2 separate regions of the Homo sapiens genome follow, and region 1 is linked to region 2. Evidence: promoter capture Hi-C in human tissues and cell types (Jung and others, 2019). All regions are on one chromosome and are shown on one strand. The core of a region is centred on a gene start or on the middle of the fragment in contact, and the rest is flanking DNA. Distances in the headings are between cores, read along the strand shown.

Region 1 (3,930 bases), core at 768-3,267, 560 kb before region 2:
AGCAGGAAGGATATAATAACACTTTTTGCTCTAAATTTTATTATGATACTTACGATAAAACTTAGAGCAGAAATAAATAAAAATAGAGACTAGAAAAACAATAGCAAAAAATCAATGAAACAGAGTTTTTTTGAAAGACACAGAAAATTTACAAACCTCTAGATAGACTAAGAAAAAAAGAGGAAACACTCAAATAAATAAAATCGAAGATGTGCTTTTCTGCTCCTCTCATGCTGCTTTTGAAATTCAGATGCAGCCTTCTTTAAATGATTTGTATTGTGTTCCACAAATAATCTTTTGGGACTTCTTTCTGAAACATGACTTTGTTTCCCTGCGGAACAAAGGCAAGGTAGAGTGACAGGGAAAAGAAGTGAGGTAGGGAAGGCTATTCTGTGAAGAGTGATTATTGGGCAATAGAGAGGCTCCCTAGGTTATGCAAGAGTCAAAGGGTAACTGGATCCCAGAGGTGATAGAAGCACACTTATCAGAGACAGTGTCTACTTGTAGGGACAACAGAGTAAATCTGCATTCTCATGGGCACTGTGGCTTGTCCTGGAAGCATCTCAGGCTGGCATAGTCATACCTCTAGGAGAGTTAATACTCTAGAAAGAGGAACAAGTCTAGAAATAAGATGATAGAAATTTCCAGAGAATTTGAGAAAAAGCCACCATGGATACAAAGATACCTCTGAGCACCCTTGCTCCAATTTTCGTTTCTTGGTGAGTCTGCAGTATTATGCTTCATATTCATGCTTCAGTGCTGCCATCTGAACTCTCACTGCTCCAGACTGTTTCCAGCATATTTTTTCTTCTAGATATTTCTACTCTTGCTCATCTTTAGAGAGGCTGTTGCTTTAGTACAAGTTGGCAAATTTTTTAATTTTAGGGCTTTGTGGACACTATAGTCTCTGTCACAACTACACAACTCTGCCACTGTAGCACAAAAGCAGCCATATACAATAGCTAAACAAATGGGCATGGCTGTGTTCCATTAAAACTTTATTTACTGCCGGACGCATTGGCTCACGCCTGTAATCCCAGCACTTTGGGAGGCCGAGGCGGGCGGATCACGAGTTCAGGAGTTCAAGAGCAGCCTGGCCAACATGGTGAAACCCCATTTCTGCTAAAAACACAAAAATTAGCCGGGTGTGGTGGCGGGCACCTGTAATCCCAGCTACTCGGGGGGCTGAGGCAGATAATTGCTTGAACCCGGGAGGTGGAGGTTGCAGTGAGCCGAGATCGTGCCACTGCACTCCAGCCTGGGCGACAGAGTGAGACTCTGTCTCAAAAAAAAAAAAACAGAAAACAAACAAACAAAAACTTTATTTACAAAAATTCAGCAGGGTAAACTTGACGTGTGGGCTGCCATTTGCAGATGCCCTCTTTTAGGTATACTCCCATCCATTCCATTGGTTTCCATTTTACTTTCTCATTTCTCAACCATGAACATGCCATTGTTTTCAGTTGCTCCATGTGTTGGCAAGTTCCCTAAACCCCAACGAATAGTAAGGCTCAGGATCATTTCGGCGAATACAGGTTGAGTTTCTGCTATAAAAACAAATTGAATGCTGAAACATGGATGAATGTGGGAGGAAAGAGCTACTTGGAAGAGTAACTCTCAAAGCTCTCTCTCAGAGCTCTCTCTCTGGGGAGAAAGAACAGTGGCGGAAACTCCTGGGTGAGGAATCCCTGATTCCCAAACAACTCCACCCCATGTCCCTGGCTGTCCTCCCCTCTGAGTAATGCAGACAGCCTTTTGGGGCTGTGATGATTCTATCTCCTATGAAGCCATCTGATGAAACTCTGATTTCACCAACCACTAGCACCCAGGAAGAGCCTGGTGTGACATAAGCTGAATGGAATAATTTTATGGGTTGAGGGGGGACTCTTTAGAAGCATCTAACTAGCATATTTTGGAGAAAAATTAGCTGAAGCATTAGGAAAGGAAACTATGCTGTATGCCAAGCCCCCACCCACAATTAATGGTATAAAAGGACTGCAGAGGAAGGAGAGACTCAAACCTGCCCACATCCACCTCCAGCAGCTTACCTGCTTTTCCATTACCTGTTCCAGCACCATGTCTTACAGTTGTTGCCTGCCCAGCCTGGGCTGCCGCACCAGCTGCTCCTCCCGGCCCTGCGTGCCCCCCAGCTGCCACGGCTACACCCTGCCTGGGGCCTGCAACATCCCCGCCAATGTGAGCAACTGCAACTGGTTCTGTGAGGGCTCCTTCAATGGCAGCGAGAAGGAGACTATGCAGTTCCTGAACGACCGCCTGGCCAGCTACCTGGAGAAGGTGCGTCAGCTGGAGCGGGACAACGCGGAGCTGGAGAAACTCATCCAGGAGCGGTCCCAGCAGCAGGAGCCCTTGCTGTGCCCCAGCTACCAGTCCTACTTCAAGACCATTGAGGAGCTCCAGCAGAAGGTGAGGGGGTTGGCCATATGGGGGGCCAGCAGCAGCTGGCTCTCTTTGAACAGTAAGACATTTTCAAGTTCAAGTGTACCTCATGAGAGAAATTTCTTTTCAGATTCTGTGTGCCAAGGCTGAGAATGCCAGGCTGGTGGTGAACATTGACAATGCCAAGCTGGCCTCTGACGACTTCAGAAGCAAGTATGTTGAACTTCAAGGTCCCTATGGTTCTTTCATGGCCCTAGGGACCTACTATTGCCTGGAAGAGAGGAGAAAGCCATTTCTCTCTATTTCTCCTCCTAGGGCTGGTTATGTAAAATTAGTTTCAAATAGGGAACTAGACTCATGTGCTGCCTGCTCTTTGGTCTATACTGGTTTTTTTTGGAAGTGTTTCTTAAACCACAAAATTCAGAGATTGAAATGAATTGTTCTTTGGGAATTGATTTGGTGGTATATTAGCTAACAAAACCGAGAACACAGTGAGAGACTTCATCTCATGTGTGCCTGTGGGCTCCTCGTGGTGTTAGGTGAGTCAGGGAACCTCTTCAGCCTATCCATGGACAGCTTGACTGAAGCATATGGAAGAGAAGAGGCAGAAAACTGTAAGTTCAAGAAGATTCAGGCCAATTCTACCCAAACAACACATGAGAGGGGAAGGTGGTTTTCTTTCCTGACTTATCCTCCCACTCCGACACGTGCAGGTACCAGACGGAGCAGTCCCTGAGGCTGTTGGTGGAGTCGGACATCAACAGCATACGCAGGATCCTGGATGAGCTGACCCTCTGCAAGTCTGACCTGGAGTCCCAGGTGGAGTCCCTGAGGGAGGAGCTGATCTGCTTGAAGAAGAACCATGAGGAGGTATGAAACAAATTCACAAAAGCAGGCCTCAGAACTAAGCTACTAGCACTGGGAATCAGGAGAGGATTACTGTCTGGATCCCTGGTCTGGGACCCTTCTCTGAGGAACTCAAGATGTTCTCAGAGAGTGACGGTGCTACATCCATATCAAGGAGTGGAGTGAGCTGCTCATTCTTCAGCGGCTGGGTGAGGGTTAGGCAGGTGTTGGAATTACTGAGGAGGGACATCATTCATTGAGCCCTGCTCTCTGCTGATCACTGCTAGGTCCTGAATTTGGTGGTGGAGATGGAGGGACAAAAAAGAAATAAGACATGGCCCTTTTCTTAAAAGAGCTCACAGTCTAGTATAGAAAGACAGTCATATAAACACAGTGATATAAACAAGACAGAGTGAAACAAGTACCATATGAGATGTACAAGCAGTATGCTCTAGAAATAATCCAGGCTGCCCAAGAGGAGATAGGGAACTCTTCTCAGATGCAAAGAGGAGGATTCCAGTACTTGGGTGTTTCAGTCTGAGGGAAGAGGTTGAACAAAGACACAGAAGTGGCAGGGCAGGGTGTATCTGGGTATGGCTGGGCATGCAGTACCTCCAAGGGATGAAAGTGAAGATGTGATGGGAAGCGAGGAAGGACTTGCATATGCCAAGGAGTTTAGACTTAGTC
Region 2 (4,127 bases), core at 523-3,022:
TTTTCCCCATTTGGAGAAGTTTACGGTGAGAATTAGAGTCATTCATCTCCATTAGACCAAATCCACTGGAGCAGATAATATATATACACATTGGTAAAGTGGAAAAGAACCAAGGAGTTAAAAGACCAAGCTTCTAATTGCAGTTCAACCACCTGTTACATATCTTCAGGAAAAAATCACAACCTCTCAACTTCAACTTCCTCTTCTATAAATTAGAAATAACAATAACCACACCTGTAACCCCAGCACTTTGGGAGGCCAAGGCAGGCAGATCAAGAGGTCAGGAGATTGAGACCATCCTGGCTAACATGATGAAACCCTGTCTCTACCAAAAAGACAAAAAATTAGCCAGGTATGGTGGCACACACCTGTAGCCCCAGCTACTCGGGAGGCTGAGGCAGGAGAATGGCGTGAACCCGGGAGGTGGAGCTTGCAGTGAGCCGAGATGGCGCCACTGCACTCCAGCCTGGGCGACAGAGCAAGCCTCCGTCTAAAAAAAAAAAAAGAAAGAAAGAAAGAAAGAAAGAAAAGAAATAATAATAACCACCATTCCTATCTCAACAGCTTGTTCTAGAAATTTTTAAAGCACAGTATCACAAACAGCACTACATAATTGTAAAACATGTATGAATATATACATCCAAACAACAGCAATGTCATAGCCTATGGGTAGATATAATCTTATACAATGTACCAAAATCCCAATTTACTTCACTAGACAAACTGTTATACCAAATTCTGTACACAGTATATCCAAGAAAATGTGTTGTTTTTATTGAGAAACTGAACCTAGCTTGGGAACACATGTGCACAGTCTAGTTCATAATATTTGGTGCAAGTATCATTCTCTAATATAGATTTACATTTTTGCAAGCAAATTTTTACTTGCAATCATAACATATCCAAATTTTCCCTTTTTACTCAATCAGAACTTAGTGTAAAGTACTACAAGTTAGTTCTTCGGATTTCATGCTAAGAAAATAATGCAGATTTTCTGCATTATTATGGTCTTCACAGAAACCTTAACTATGATGAATTTAAAAGTGCAAAATAATCCAGGATAACTTTATGATTTCAGATTTTTTAATGTTAAAAATAATGCCATCATTAATTAGAAAATTCTAAAATCATTACTTCCACTTTCTTAGGCAAAATATCAATATACTCTCATTTGCCAAATAAATTAAAAGATCTCCTACAAACACAATCTCCTAAATTGTGGTTTTATGGCTTTAATGTTTTATGTGTGGCAACTATTGATGCTAGTTAAATTTTTAGAAACTTTTTCTTTTTGATTCCCTACAGTTGTCTACAAGAACCTTATTGTAGCATGATCCTGCCAGACTTTATGCTATTTGTTGCTCCAATTAAAACTGTTTAAAACATGAATTTGAAAAATCTTATTTTAACTATAATTTTGTAGCTGAAACTTTTTTTTCTAAACTTTGCAAACATTCTATGCAACCTGAATTAGTGCTGAGAAAAATGGATCTTAACGGTTGCTCAATGTTCTTCAACAGGTGAAAAGCATAATAAAACATGCTCATCTGAACTCCACCCATTTTCAATTTCAACATAGCAAACCTCCTGTTTATTCTTAGGGCAAATTCAAAATTGTACATATTAGGATTGGTTATTACTGAAGATAATTTATGCAATCATAAGCCAAAGATGCTAAGTTGGCAAAAAGAAAACAATGTAAGTAAGCAAACTCTAACACATGTGGACACACCCTCTCAGTATATAAAGGCTTGTCACTGTCCTTGGTAGCAGGCACTCCCTGGGCTAAACAGCATCACCATGTCTGTTCGATACAGCTCAAGCAAGCACTACTCTTCCTCCCGCAGTGGAGGAGGAGGAGGAGGAGGAGGATGTGGAGGAGGAGGAGGAGTGTCATCCCTAAGAATTTCTAGCAGCAAAGGCTCCCTTGGTGGAGGATTTAGCTCAGGGGGGTTCAGTGGTGGCTCTTTTAGCCGTGGGAGCTCTGGTGGGGGCTGCTTTGGGGGCTCATCAGGTGGCTATGGAGGATTAGGAGGTTTTGGTGGAGGTAGCTTTCGTGGAAGCTATGGAAGTAGCAGCTTTGGTGGGAGTTATGGAGGCATCTTTGGAGGGGGCAGTTTCGGAGGTGGCAGCTTTGGTGGGGGCAGCTTTGGTGGAGGCGGCTTTGGTGGAGGCGGCTTTGGAGGAGGCTTTGGTGGTGGATTTGGAGGAGATGGTGGCCTTCTCTCTGGAAATGAAAAAGTAACCATGCAGAATCTGAATGACCGCCTGGCTTCCTACTTGGACAAAGTTCGGGCTCTGGAAGAATCAAACTATGAGCTGGAAGGCAAAATCAAGGAGTGGTATGAAAAGCATGGCAACTCACATCAGGGGGAGCCTCGTGACTACAGCAAATACTACAAAACCATCGATGACCTTAAAAATCAGGTAAGAGGTATTTTTAAATCCAGCTTTAAGTATCTTGTCCATGTAATCCAGACAGATGAATCTTAAATTAAGCACAATGTGGCTGTTCACTATGCTTACCCATGTTACTTTCTTCCTTCAAAAATAACCCAGTCTCATCAAAGATAAACATCTGTGAAACTATGGTCATGGCAATCTTCATCCAGCAAGTGTGCTACTTGTCTTAAGAGGATGGGAGATTTACTAAGCACTTTTGAGGTTTTAATGAGCATACAATGAGTCCACAGTTAAAATATGCTAGGCTATTTACAAATGTAGAAACTGAAAAAAAAAATCATGATATGAATCAGAACAAAATGTTATTCAGACTGATAACAAGCCATATTCAGTACCAACATGGCAAGAAAAATAAATTTTCCAGTATGAAAATGGGACACTGCTTGCCTCTAAGGAATTTCTGAATTGTACCTATTGTGTACCAGTTCAGAGTGTATTTATTTATTAGTATTTATCATGAGTTAAACAAATGCAGGTGTGAGTCAGCCAAAGCATGGCTGAAATACATGGAAATCACATAGTCTAAAAGAGGAGGGCACACTTACAGGAATACATCTATATAATTCCAGTTAGTTTTCAGAAAGGAATAATTCGTGTACAGAAATACAAGACTGGAGAAATTCCAAGAGAACAAATAATTCAAAGTTAAGTATATGGGTAAGCCTGCAATATTTCATATTTAAAATAAAAAATTTTCCCAAGATTTTGTAAGAGAACAACATAAAAGTGCAGAGTGCATCTATGTCACTACAAAAGCCATATCTGCATCTGACCTCTTCTCAAATAACTGTGCCTCTCCCTCCAGATTCTCAACCTAACAACTGATAATGCCAACATCCTGCTTCAGATCGACAATGCCAGGCTGGCAGCTGATGACTTCAGGCTGAAGTAAGTTAAGTGATCGTTGTATAATACTATCACAACGAATACATCAGTGGTTTTTAACAATGACTTGGGATGCCCTCAATAACATTTACATTTTTCTGAATTCACCCAAAGTTAAATAGTATTGGAGTTATCTGAGAAATTTTCCATGTCAGTGTTACCTTTTTGGCAATATTAAAGGAAGAAAATGCATTTTAAAGTAACTGCTAAGGTTTTTTCCATTAAACCACTATTACTTCTAAGAGAACTGTACATGACAAATATTGCCATTACATGAGATCAACTATGTAGCTGCTTTTTAAATAGTCTCTGCCCAGATACATCTCCCCTATATAAGTTATAACCAGTATTGATATCATGCTTGTTTCAGGTATGAGAATGAGGTAGCTCTGCGCCAGAGCGTGGAGGCTGACATCAACGGCCTGCGTAGGGTGCTGGATGAGCTGACCCTGACCAAGGCTGACCTGGAGATGCAAATTGAGAGCCTGACTGAAGAGCTGGCCTATCTGAAGAAGAACCACGAGGAGGTGACACAAAAGTTATACTTTTCCCAGCCAAAAGAGAGTTCATTATGGTCCTCGTGTAGCCAATAAATCTTTCTGTTCCTCAAACAGGAAATGAAAGACCTTCGAAATGTGTCCACTGGTGATGTGAATGTGGAAATGAATGCTGCCCCGGGTGTTGATCTGACTCAACTTCTGAATAACATGAGAAGCCAATATGAACAACTTGCTGAACAAAACCGCAAAGATGCTGAAGCCTGGTTCAATGAAAAGGTA

The links. The method cuts DNA at HindIII sites, captures the fragments that hold promoters and counts their contacts. A contact is called where the count stands out against the background at its distance.
Region 1: a contact is called between the fragment with the promoter of KRT34 here and the fragment with the promoter of KRT10 in region 2, in 2 of the 25 tissues and cell types used here (bladder and mesendoderm cells).

What each region holds. Positions count from the first base shown.
Region 1 is chr17:41,380,393-41,384,322 of GRCh38, reverse strand. It overlaps KRT34 (keratin 34), which reads left to right and starts at 2,017. Exons shown (of 7, transcript NM_001386014.1): 1 at 2,017-2,424; 2 at 2,528-2,610; 3 at 3,111-3,267. The coding sequence starts at 2,077. RefSeq lists an enhancer at 1,825-3,024. The HindIII fragment of the contact is 11,267 bases long and covers 1-3,930 here.
Region 2 is chr17:40,820,259-40,824,385 of GRCh38, reverse strand. It overlaps KRT10 (keratin 10), which reads left to right and starts at 1,772. Exons shown (of 8, transcript NM_000421.5): 1 at 1,772-2,427; 2 at 3,269-3,351; 3 at 3,719-3,875; 4 at 3,963-4,124. The coding sequence starts at 1,801. All of the region lies in intron 1 of KRT10-AS1 (KRT10 antisense RNA 1), which reads right to left. RefSeq lists an enhancer at 3,532-4,127. The HindIII fragment of the contact is 10,916 bases long and covers 1-4,127 here.